2 separate regions of the Homo sapiens genome follow, and region 2 is linked to region 1. Evidence: promoter capture Hi-C in 16 types of primary human blood cells and fetal thymus (Javierre and others, 2016). All regions are on one chromosome and are shown on one strand. Each heading gives the region's core, a stretch centred on a gene start or on the middle of the fragment in contact. The rest is flanking DNA. Distances are from core to core; before and after follow the strand shown. Region 1 holds the start of CDH11 (cadherin 11). Region 2 has its middle 92 kb from the start of CDH5.

The links. Contacts are between HindIII fragments. The CHiCAGO score rates a contact against its expected background, and 5 or more counts as called.
Region 2: a contact is called between a fragment that was not itself captured here and the fragment with the promoter of CDH11 in region 1, in 3 of 17 cell types (endothelial precursors, M2 macrophages and M0 macrophages). The highest score is 8.7, in endothelial precursors.

The regions. Positions count from the first base shown.
Region 1 is chr16:65,119,183-65,125,406 of GRCh38, forward strand. CDH11 (cadherin 11) reads right to left here and starts at 2,881. Exons shown (of 13, transcript NM_001797.4): 1 at 2,698-2,881. The HindIII fragment of the contact is 3,944 bases long and covers 360-4,303 here.
Region 2 is chr16:66,271,058-66,277,795 of GRCh38, forward strand. No RefSeq gene overlaps it. Among named protein-coding and RNA genes, the nearest start is that of CDH5, 92 kb to the right of the region's middle. The HindIII fragment of the contact is 1,029 bases long and covers 1,747-2,775 here.

The DNA.
Region 1 (6,224 bases), core at 1,631-4,130:
CCATGAATTATGAAGACAAGTGCATTAAAAGAGCATGAAATTGATCCGTATTCCCCCAAATCATGGCGTGGCTCTCCAAGTCTGTCCCCTGCCCCCTCCTCCCACAAATAAACAATCAAACATGCACATCCACAGCCACCACTCTACAGAGGGAACATGAGTTCTAAGACATAAAAAAAATTGCGCCATAACTATTTTTTTTAAATTTTCAAATTAACAAAAGATTGCATCTTAATTGAAAATAGAATTTAGGTTTCTAGTAATTTTACTGTCTGGTGTTCTGATAAGAATGCTGAACGTAATGAAAGTTCTGAAGTGCTATCAAGATGGTCCACTGCTTCAGTTAGAACTATTTTAAAAGCTTATTTTCCTAGGCAGCAATAAGCAGCCATTTGAATAAATCTACATGTCTGGGGCTCGCCAGATTATCCAGTCTCAATCCTTCCAAGGCCTGCCTTCATTCCCCCTTTCCCAGGGGTGAGGAGGGTGGTTTATTCTTTCAAACAATGTCATAAAATGCCCAGTTTATGCAGACTCTGAAGTAACAACTAAAATGATAGTAATAATTTTTATTAATAATAGTGCATGCCTGCAAGACATTTTAATGTCTTAATTTACAATGTTTCAAAAGTAAGATGTAAAGATAATCCTTACTCAAGCAAAGTTTCCTGGCCTTTCAGATGCCTTTCCCTGGTCTCTACTGAAAAGCACTCACATTCCTTTTGTACTAGGCTGGATTTCAGTTTTTCACAGAGGTTCGAATTCCAGAGCCCACTGGCCAACTCTAAAACTTGGAATCAGAGATTACATTTAAGGAACTTCAGTAGCTGGAGCCTCAGAGTGCTTCTCGTATTGGCCACAACTCTGTCCCTTTGTTTTGTAACTTTTTTTCCTTTGTCCTATTGGAAGAAGACCAGGCTCCCTGCAGCTAGGGTTGGGCAGTTAATATTTCTGTTCTGGTGTCTGCACCTACGTATTTGTAGGAAAAACAATTCCAGGATTAACGAAAAGAAGGTCAGTCCCTTCTCTTCTCTGCCAACATATTAGGCTCTAGCGCTCAGAGCCCAGCCTGGCAAATGTGCTCATGCGATGCTACAGGATCCTCGCTCCTGAGAACACATCTGCATCCCCATCCCCAGGAAATCCAGACACCCCGCAAAACCATCGACGTCTGCTGCAAGCCCAAGTGATGAGGAAATTGATCCGTCCTCTAGCCAGATTAATTATGGTAGCCTCCCTGTGATTAAAACGAAAACTTACTGCCTCATATTAAACCGATAGCCATGATTAGAAGAAGAAAATAAGAAAAGATTTCAGAGCGATCGTAGCACGATTTCTTTAGGGGGAGACGAAGGGGGAAGACTTTAGTGAAATCTATACCCTCATACAGCCGGGTTTCAAGAACAACCCCCCACTCCCATCCCTTAGGGATAACCCGTCGTCAGGCAGGGATGGTATTAAATAATTAAAAGATGCGATTTCTTAATAGCAGTGTGATGGCCCATGAAATTCCTACTGCATTATCAGCAAAAGCAACAGGGCTTCTTCTAGCACCTAGAAAACCTTTCACCCGGGAGAGGCAGGCGCGGCGAGCCCCGGGCGAAAGCAGGGCCTCGGCAAAAAAACGGACAAGGAAGCCGGACCCGCAAGCCTCCCCCGACCCCACTTTCTCTGGGGACTCCGCTTCACAGCGTGAGGCGGGCCCTCCTACAGTTCCTCTGGGTTGGGGAGGGGGGAGAAGGGAGCTCTCCTCGCCGTCCTCCCCATCTGGCCAGCTTCTCAGTGCTTCCCACCTCCCGGCTCGCGTTCCGGGGCAGAGCGCAGGGAGGGAGGCCGTGCGTGCCGGGAGCTAGAGAGGCTTGGCGCGCTCCGAGAAGCGGCGCAGGTTTCGGGAAGGTGTGGTTCTCAAAGTTAACGTTGACCCTGGCAGCTTTCGCCAATCCCAAGCCAGAGGCGAGCCCGAGTCTGGGCCGCTCATGGACCTACTCCTGCGCTGGTGGGAGCTTACAAACGGGCGCCAGAGCTCCCGCAGAGACTCGGGCTGGAGGGCTGTAGCGCACCGCAGCCTGCTGCCCCAGAACCACAGTCGGCGGCCCCAAACCCACGCTATTAAAGTGCGGGCAATCTCCTTCCGGAGCTGGGGTCTTTCCGTTTTCCCGGGCTTACCCGGCAGTCTCGACTGCAGGGACTAAGCCCCGGGGAGCTTTCGGCAGGGATCCGGGAGGATGGAGTAAGAACCCCGCAGAGCGCGGTCATGTCGCCGCTTTGGGGAAGCGGCGCAGGGCTGGCGGGCACCGCGCCGTGGGCGACTTTCCCCAGAGATATGACCGGGGACAGTCGGCGTGTCCGGAGGTCTGCTCTGCAGTCTCTTGCCCCAGCCAGGTACAAACCCCCTCTGCTGTGGCCTCGGCGCAGACCCCACAGGAGGCCGGAGCCAGGGAGAGTCGTGGAGCGCACATCTGAAGCCTCCGTCCCCTGCTTTGCCCGCGCCCACAGCTGGCTCCCTTCTCCCTTTCTGATTTTTAAACAAATCTCTCCCTCCCTTTTGCTTTGCGTTAGTGAAGCCTTCTCGACTCAGATACCACCGTCCCCCTCACCACCCCGCCCCGCCAAGACATTCTCTTCCTGAGAAAATCCTGCCCCCCATTCCAAGAAGCCCCAACCAGGCGAGAGGAAGGGACTGGCGGCGCACCTCACCTGGGGCCCTTGAGGGTGGACGCAACCTCCGAGCCGCCAGTCCCTGGCGCAGGGCAAGCGCTGCGGTGTCAGTCCCGGCCCCAGTCCCGGTCCCATTCACAAGTCAGCGGCGGCTGCGAGCGGCCCCCGCGGCATCTGCTCCTCGGCCCGCGACGCTCCCCTCAGCTGGCGGCGGCCGCGGAATGAGCCGCCGAGCGCGCTAGTGGCAGGAATGAGAAACCGGGGGGAGGTGGCGGGCGGGCAGGCGGGTGCGGGGCGGGGGGGGCGGGAGGAGGGAGGCTGCCGCTGTGAGGGAAGGAAAGGGCGGGGGCTGAGAGAAGCCGAGGCTGCGAGAGGCAGCGAGATGGGCCTCGCAGAGGCTGCGGGGGCCGACCCCGTCCGCGCCCCTCCCCCCAGGGGCCCAGAGATGCTAACCCCTGGATTCGTGGCCGCCCCTCCCGCCCCGTGGCGCGGCGCTCCGACTCCCTCAGGGCTCAGATGGAGTCTGGAGCGACTGAAGTTGGGCTCCAGGGACGCACAGCCAATCAGGGAGGGCGGCGGAGGGAAGCTGGAGAGGGGTTGGGAGCCCCCATTTTCCTCCTTCCCCCAAATCCGCTCCAGCTGGCCAGGCTGGGCTCTCGCCTGGCGGGCCGGGATGGTGGTTGGGGGAAGGTATCGTCCAAGTGAGGGAAGCAATTGGGAATTCGGGAGCGCGTTCTATTCTTTCTCACTCCACCACCCCACCTTCCAAAAATCCCTCAACGTTGGCGGCTCCTGCCCAGCCCCCACCCCTCTCAATCTCCCATCCCTTGCAAACTCTTCTGGTGGCTCTGGTGGTGAAGTCGGGCGGGGAGGGAGACTTAGGACTTGGGAAGAGCCCAGTCTCCGTTCTCTCTCAGCTCTCCTCTCGTCTAGTGCCCCCCACGCAACGCCTCGGAGAGGGGTGCGCGGGGAGCGCTTCGCCGGGGTCGGCCTCGCTCCAGCTTTTGGGAGGGTGCCTTGGCCCCTACCCCAGCCAGGTATCAGTGGCCCCCGCCGGTAGTGTCACTTGTTGCCACTCCCTCGCTACAGACCCGCCAGGGCCCGGTGGAGTGTGCGTTTCTACGGGAGAAAGGGCCTAATGGGGCGCAGCGCCGGAGTCCTAGCTCCTTCCTCCGCTGTTCCCCTCACTGACGACTCGCTACCGTGAGGGTTCCCCGGGCCTGCTTCCTGCCCTCCCTCCCCGAGTCGCCGGGAGAAAGGGCTGGCAGGGCCGGGGCTTAGGAATCACGCCAAGGACTGGGCGGGGCGCTCGCGGTACCGGGAACGGCGTGGGGATCCGCACACCCAGCAGGGAACAACCATGCCTGTGTGGGGACCCCTGGCTTGAACAAGTTTGCAGGGTGGGAGGTGGAGGCAAGAGAGGAGGCGGAGGAAGGTGGAGACGCCAGTGGGTGAAGGCTAAAAAGGAACCGCCTAGGGGGACGGGGATGAGGCTGGGAAAGGAGAAGAGATGGACCCGCGAAAAAGACGGGGAAGGAGGCTGCGGAGGGAAAGCTGGGCGCCACAGCCAAGCAGTTTGAAAGGGCTAGAGGGGAGGAGACGGGCCCAGGAGTTAACGGAAAAAGAGGCCGAAAACGGAAGAGAAAGCTTGGGATCCTGAGCGCATGGGGAAGGAACCCCAGTGCGGGGCTAAGGCAAGAGCGGCCGAGCCCTGCCCTCCAGCTCCTGGTCACCAGCCCGCGGGTCCCGAGCGCCCGCAGCCGCCCGGGTTTCCACACGGCTTGGGGAGACGCCCGCGGGGGCGGGTGCCGGCGAGGCTGCCCCGGGACCTACCCTCTTCGGCCTGCGCGCCCGCGTTTTTCTTGACGACTCCAGGATCCGGGTGGCGCTGCGTGCCTGCCCCCAGTCCGCGTCCTGCGCGGAGAGGATGCCTCTGTCACCCTCTGTGTGGACGTGGCCTTTGAACTCCTCATTCCTCCACTGCGGGGGAAGAGCTGTAAGTTTCCAGCTGCCCGGTTATCTTACTCCTCAGCCTTCCCCCCACCATAGGTGTCCAAGGTGATAGCCCCCTGGGTCTCCAGTAACCCCCCAACCTCGCACCACACTCTGCGCAAGGGACGCGCGAGGACATTGACTCCCGGTGCTTTCCTGTAGAGCGCCAGAGAGCAGATCGTGGTGCCTGCCACTCCTGCCTCCCCCTGTGGGTCCCTGGCCCTGAACCTTTTCAGAGCTCTACCCTGCTTCCTCTGTCTGCCTTTTTGGCCTCTGCTGTAACCCCTAAAACTTTGGGTACTTCCCAAGCCACCGCCGAAAGTCCCCACTCTAATGAGGCATGGTGATGGTAATAGGATGATCTGGTGGCGTCATTTCAGCTTATAAATGAAGTTACTTACACAGGAGAGGATGGACAAGGGGTCCGGCTTTCCCTCAGAGGTACTCGAGTTTTGCTCTTGTTTGGCTACAAACTATTGCCTGGATTTTCTCAACCCTTCCACGTGGTCCTAGAGGGAGTGTGAAGTCACGATCAATCTGATCATACATATATTATACAAAGATGCCCGGGATCTGTAATGATTAGGACATCTCTTGATCCATGAAGCAAGTTTCATAAACTCCCTTTTGGAAGCGTGTCCAAAGATGAACCTGGCCACATGTCAGCTGACATTAGCTGGACTTTGACCTCTCCTCTCTGTTCAGCATTTATCGAATCACAACAGTTGTTTTTATAGACCATCCCTTTAGTAATGGGTGCATCAGCCGATTTTAAAAAGTAAGTTAAAAACTGCTTGATAAGTTTCCACTGACACTACACACCTGAATCAGATGGAACCTAGTGTATAGCAGCAGTCAATAACCCTTTGCACAACCCAGCAAGTTAGGATTCTACTCAAGAGAACAGGAAACATGTTCACACAAAAACACACACCAGAATGTTCATAGCAGCCTTATTTATAATAGCCAAAATCTGGAAACAACACAAATACCCATCAACTGGTGAGCAGATAAACAAAAGAAACAACATAAATACCCATCAGCTGGTGAGTAGATAAAGAAAACAGGGTGTATCCATACCATGGAATATTGTTCAGCAATAAAAGGGGAAGAAATACTGATGTTTGCTACATCACGAATGAACTTCAAAAACATATGCTGAAAGCCAAATGAAAAACAACATATTGTATGATTTTCATTTATATGAAATGGCCATTTATATGAACTGGAAAGGCAAACTTATAGAAACATAAAGCCGTGGTTGCCCAGGGCTGAGGATTTGAACAGGAATTGACTGCAAATAGAACTTGAGGGAATTCTGTTGGGCAATCAAAATGCTCTAAAACTAGATAGTTGTGATGATTGCACAAATCTATAAATTTACTAAAATCATTGAATTGTAACCAAGAAAGAAAAAAAAATCCTTTCATATCTTTATTCCCAGAATATCTGTGACCTGCAGCTAATCCACAAGAGGAAACTTGGCAAAGCAGTTTCAGAGAAAAATATGTTAAAAAAAGATTTTTAGTTCTTATGGAAAGATAACCATATTTCTATTCAGCAAGTTCTATTTT
Region 2 (6,738 bases), core at 1,011-3,510, 1.2 Mb after region 1:
TAGTCCTCACCTCAGACCGATTATTATCCCCTCCTGGGCGAGGTAACTGAGACACAGAGAGAGATTAAGGAACTCACCCAAAACCACACAGGTAGAGGGGAAGCTAGGATTTTAACCCAGGCAGCCTTGATTGCAAAAGAGAAAAGGGGAGAAAAGGAATGAGAGGGGGCAGAAAGAGAAAATTTACTTCTAAGACAAGGCAGTGCTGGAGCGCGTCTGCCTCCATTTTGTGTGAGGGGTCTAGGAAGCCTTATTAGAAGTCTCCCAGCTCCTTTCCAGAGCCTGGCATCAGGATGAGGCAGTGAGGCGGGGAGCCCCAGACTGGGCTCACACACAGGGAGCTGCCCAGGCCAAGGTTTGGGCAGCTGAATGGAGGGAGAGGAGTTCTGCCCGCCCCACCCCATCCCATGCACCCAGGCCTCTCTATCTCTGCTGGCCTGGGGATGGGTCCACCAGGGTAGAGGTAAGCAGGTTTTGGAGAAGAATGCATCATGGAGCTTATGCCTGTCTAGGTGACTTCTCCAAGCCTCAGAAGATGCCCGTGGCACAGTGACTCACTGTGGCTTCAGATTCAGCTCTGGCCCTCCCTTCTCTCGAGCCCCACCCTTGGAAGAAATGCAAGGACAGAAACTTCACTGAACTCCTGATTTTTGTGCCTGGCCCCAAAGACAAGGGGGCTAGGGTCTGTGCATTCCAGAGACTTCCTCTTAGCTGAGATCTGAAATCCCCAAGTTTTCCAGTCAAGCTGTTGTAAACCCGTCCAGATCTCTGCGCACCTCCTCCCGGTGGCCTGCAGACTGCAGAGCTGAGCCCAGAGGCCCAGTTCAGTGGGCAGGCTACAGGGGAGGGAGGGGAACCAGAGCCAGAAGGAGAGGGGCGTCTCTGAGACTGGGCTCCCACATTCACCTGGAATCATCTTTGAAGTGGAAAGATTAACACGGGATTCAGTTTCCCCTTTGTGAATGAGTGGTGTTGGAAACTACACAGAGATTCCTCTGTGCCGGTCAGGCCCTGCAACCCCAGGACCAAGAGAGGGATGAATCTTGATAAAACCTTGGGATGGAGAAAGGCAAGAAGGGTGCCATTCACACACACCCCATCAGTCTCATTGTTCCCTGCCATTACCACTACCCTGGAGAAGGACACCAAACAGCTGCTTATTAAAACACATTACCTGAGGCCAGGCTTGGTGACTCACATGTCCAATCCATGACAGGCAGGTTGCTTGAGGCCAGGAGTTCGAGACCAGCCTGGCCAACACGGCAAAACCTCATCTCTACTAAAAATACAAAAATTAGCCGGACGTGGTGGTGCATGCCTGTAGTCCCAGCTTTCTGGGAGGCTTAGGCATGAGAATTGCTTCAACCCGGGAGGCGGAGGTTGCAGTGAGCCAACATGGTGCTACTGCATTCCAGCCTGGGTGATAAAGCAAGACTCTGTCTCAAAAATAAAAATAAAAATAAACACATTACCTGAGCCGCTGAATGTGTCAACACTCAGATGGACTCGCTCTTTCTTTGTAAATGGCTGGACCTTGGTGCAAGGCATGCTGGGAACTTGGATCTGTGGGGACGGGGGTCTGGGGAGCCCCTGACACCTTCCTGGAACAGGCCATGCTCCTCCCACCAGCCTCAGGCCCTTTGCATGTGTGGCTCGCTCTGCCTCGACTGCTCTCCCCCTACCCCTTTCACCCATGACACAATGAGTCTTTCTTCAGCAGCAAGAAAAATGGTTTCTTCTCCAGGAAGCTTTTCCCGAGCCTAGTGTAAAGCTCTAAGGCAGCAGGGGTCAGGTGGCTTATGTGGGGTTCCCAGAAGGCACAGCCTGAGATAAGACTGGAGTGCAGGTTGTTTATTTGGGAGAGGTTCCCAGACAGCAAGAGTGAAGGATTGAGGGAAAATGGCATAGGGAGGAGTAAGATCATTAAAAGTTGTGTTGCGGTCATCAATGCTTTGGGCAACAGAGGCTCAGTGCAGCTGGGACCTCCTGACAAGCAGCATGAAGTCCCCAGAATCAGTCCCCTAAAGGCCAAGAGCCTGGAGCATTCATCCACCAGCTCCCAGCCCTCATTGGCTGAGAGCTTCCCCGGACAAGATTCATGCCCTGTATTGACTGCATTTTCTTATTTTCTGTATTCCTGATGCTCCGGCATTTGGGGCCTTGATCCTGGAGAGACTGCCCCTCCCAGAGCTAGCTAATTCCTAGAGACAGCAAAGGACTCCCCTGTGACTGCACCTTTGATGTACAAAGCAATCGTTCCAGAGCCCACACCCCCAACCGTCCAACTGCCAAGTCAATATTCTCTCTGCCCTAAATCACTACAGGGCCAAGAACCAGACAACTAGGAATGACCTTGAAAGCCCAGAGCCCTCCACAGTGATTCACACTATCCATCCTAAGCTAACTCAGTCTACCTACCCTGCCTTGCCCACACCTTCCCAAGAAATCCTCAACAAAGGCTCTGAGCCTTGCTCTCCCCTCTCCCTCTTCTGCCTTCTGACCCTGGCGCTTCCCATGTGTTCCAGGTAGCAGTGTGCAGTGCCTCCCATTTCTAGAGTACTTAGTATAAACTTCTTCCTTTATGACAATCATCTCCCTGCCTGCGTGTCTGACCATACTGATTAAAACAAATCCTGGGTACATTTTAACTCGTGCCTTCACACCGCCAGGCTTGCATGGGCTAAGAGTGTTCCCACAACGCTGGAGAAGACCCTGAGGCAGAAAACCAACAGGCATCTGTCCCATACATGAAGTGGATGCTGTAAGAGCAAGGCAAGCTTTCTGAGCTGTCAGGGAAACGGCCACCGGCCACTGTCGCTGGCACTGAAATCACAGCTGGCCAAGGAATGTGATGAGCAGGGTGCCAGAGGTGTCTGCTGCATCCCATGTGCTTGTTTGCTTGTTTTTCTCACCATTGATCCCCCAGTGCCTAGCACAGTACTGGCATGGTGTGGGGACTTAGTCATTACCTGCTGAACTCATGAATTGAATTAGTGAGTGACTGAGTGAGTGAACCTTGTAAGCCCCAAAGGAGAATGACTAACAGTCCAATAGAAGACATTCAAAGGTTCCCAGCCAGTGAGGTCCAGTGGTCAAGTTTATCCCAGCAATAACCCAGCTAATAGCACCCTCCAGTGGCCAAGGTCCCAGGGCTGGTCAAAGCTAGGTCAGGTGGCGGAGCTGTCAGCCCAGCAAGGAAACTGAGGCAGAAAACTAAAGGAGTTCATGGGATGTTAAGCCTTCACTCCTGCAATGGCTTGCATTTAAACAAGACTCCTTACAGGCCCCAGGGCAAGATCAGGTATGGGCGGGCGTAGTGAACACGAAGAAGCCCAGAGATTTACAATGGGCAGGACCAGGGTAACAAATCCAAACAGAAAAATAGAATCCATAAACCTCTTCTCCTAGGCTTCAGAAGGTTCCAGATTCATCTCCCTGAATGGCCACCACAGAGAAGTGGCACAAGAGTGTCACACCTAGGGTGCAAAGGACTGCCTGCTATCCATCATAATCATAAATGTGTATACTGTCATAAACTTCCAGAAGATGGCAGTAAAGAGACTCATGCTAAGAAAATCAGTACATTACAATAATTTTCCATATATGGAAGTGTCTTGAGAAAGGGAGAGGTTTTGCCTAATCTGTTTAAATGTGCTGTGTGACCTGGTGAGCAGATTTTTTTCCCTTCCTCAGTGAGTTTTGCCCAGGCTCAGAAACCCCGCAGGCCCCTAGAGCATAAACCAAGGGAAAGCAAAAGTCAACAGACATACAGGCAAGGAAGCGGGGGCAGGTGGCGGGGCAAGGCTGGTTTCCTCTGCGTCTCCTTGGTTGCATCTCTAGCCTCATTCGTGCAATAAACACTTGCTGAACTCTGTTGGGCACATTGGGGGTGGGTGAGGGACACATATGACCAAGATTGGGTCCTTTTGCTCAGTGTCATGGAAAAAAGACTGATATGGTTTGGATCTGTGTCCCTGGCCAAAGTTCATGTCAAATTGTAATCCCCTGTGTTGGAGGCGGGGTCTGGTGGGAGGTGACTGCATCATGGTAGTGGGTTTCTCATGAATGGTGCAGCACCACCCTCTTGGTGCGGTTCTCATGATAGTAAGTGAGTTCTCATGAGATCTGGTTATTTAAGTGTGTGGCACCTCCCCTTTCACTGTCTCTCTCTCTTGCTCCTGCCCCTGCTATGTAGGACACCTGCTCCCCCTTTGCCTTCTGCCATGATTGGAAGCTTCCTGAGGCCTCCTCAAAAGCAGAAGCCACTATGCTTCCTGTAGAGTCTGCAGAACCATAAGCCAATTAAAACTCTTTTCTTTATAAACTACCCAGTCTCAGGTATTTTACCAACTTTGCTGTTAGGCAGACCTGGGTTCAAATCCAGCTTCTACAGCTCAGAACATAGAAAGTCACATACCCTCCCCAGCCCTCAGGCTCCTCATCTGCATAATGGGGATAACACCACCTGCTTTACAAGATGTAAAAAAGACCACGTGAGTAAAGTGCCTGGTGCAGAGACTGAAACAGACGGAGCTGGAGTTGGAAAAGAATTGCTATTTCCTTCTTCCTCCCTTGATATCATTGGAACCTCCTTCTTTAGAGGTTACAATCCAGCTGCTGAAGCAGCATATATTTGGTTGACTTTTGACTAAAGAAAAATACTGCCACTATTTTATGATGTCACAAAGTGGTAAGGGATTTGATAAGAGATTCCTGGGCCCAGTATAATGTGGCACAACCATGAGAAAACCTCCCATACCAGAACTACTCCCTCGGGTTGAAAACCAAACATTGACTTGTGCAGCCAATGTTCTGGCTTGTCTGGGGGCTGCCTGAGAGACTGACTTCTGTCTTGCCTGACTCAGAGCACAGACAGGAATGGCAGCACAGAAGCCACTGGAAACAGGCAAGCTCCAAGGAACGTTACAGCTGCAGAGATTATGCAGTTCCACAGGAAGACAGCAGGAGGAGCAAGAGATTATGTCTCTTGAGAAGAAATAGACTAGGGAATTCGAGACGGTTAAACAGGCATGCACAAGGCCAGAGAAGACACATCCCCAGAAAAGATTTGAGAGGTCCCAGAACCTTTTGCCAGGCTGATTGGTAAAAGTCTCCCCGTGCGTGAGGCCAATTCATAAAGACTGGGAGAGGTGGTTGTTTTTTCAAATGCCAAAATCTCAACAAAAGATCACAAGGCATACAAATAAACAGGTAAACATGGCCCAATCAAATGAACAAAATAAAACTCCAGTAACCAAGCCTAAAGAAATGCAAATTGCTGAACTTTCTCACAAAGAATTCAAAACAACTGTGTTGAAGATGCTCAGTGAGCTAAAAGAGAACACAGATAGACAACTAAGTGAAATCAGGAAAATGCTGGATGAGTCCAGTGAGAATGTCAACAGAAATAAACTAAAGAAACAGAAATTCTAGAGCTAAAAAATACAATAACTAAGTTGAAAAATTCACTACAGCTGTTCAAAGCAGACTTAGGCAGAAGAAAGAACTCGCAAATTTGCAGATCGTTCATTTGAATCAAGTCAGAGGAGCACAAAGAAAAAATAATTAAGAAAACTGAAAAGGCCCTAAGGGACTTATGGGACGTCATCAAGCAGACCCTTTTATACACTATGGAAATCCTAGAAGTAGGAGAGAAAGGGGCAGAGACCTTATTTGAGGAAATGGCCAAAAACTTCCCAAATCAGAGGAAACAAATGAAAATAGAAGTCCAAGTTCAATGAATTCCAACTGGTATAAAATCAAAGAGGCCCAAACTGTGACACATTATAATCAAACTGTCAAAAGACAAAGAGAAAGCCTTGAAAGTAGTAAAAGTGCTTCATCACAGACAAAGAGGCTTCTATAAGATTATCAGGAGGTTTCTCAGCAAAAACCTTTTAGCCATAAGGCAGTGGAATGATGTACTCAGAGTGCTGAAGGAAAAAAGCTATCAATCAAGAATACTAAAACTGGAAAAACTATCCTTTAAAAATGAGACAGTTTTGTTTTTTTTTTTTCTTGAATTAATGCTCAGAGTTGGTCTTTATGTAGTATTTTGCTATTTCCAAGTTTTTGAAGCACACTGAAAGCCTCTAGTTTTGCCTTTTCAAGGTGATGAAGTAGAGGCTTTCAGTATGCTTCAAAAACTTGGAAATAGCAAAATACTACATAAAGATCAACTCTGAGCTTTAATTCAAGAAAAAAAAAACCTGGGAATCCACTGGAATCATGAAGGACACCCTAAATCCTGGGGACGAGAAGGTGGGCAAACAGCCCCTGTGATTGCGTCTCAATGATGAAAGTGAGTAAAGCCCCAGTGCATGAGTGGGGCAGGGAGCCTCCTTTTGTGATTCACTTTTCCTCTGGGGAACACAGCAATCCAAGCCAAGGGAAAGCGCTTTGTTTCTCCCAAGCCCTGGAGCCAACTCAGGGAGAGGCTTGGAGATGCTGAGAGAGAAAGGTACCTGGAAAAGCTGCAGGCATTTTCCCAGACCTGGAACTGAGAGCAGGGTGCCATTTTCAATATGAGTGTATACAAAGTCAGTTACTCTTTGGCAACCTGGCAGTGTGGCTGCACAGGCATTTTAGTCTCAGGCCAGAGATTGGAGCACTTGCTCTGGACCAGGGTACAGGCCTCCATGGCCAGAACTGTGGAAAGCACCTCAACAGTAAGCATTGGAATTGTGCTTTTCTCCATTGCAGACCTGGGGAGGGAGGAGAGCTACTACAGCATGGTTT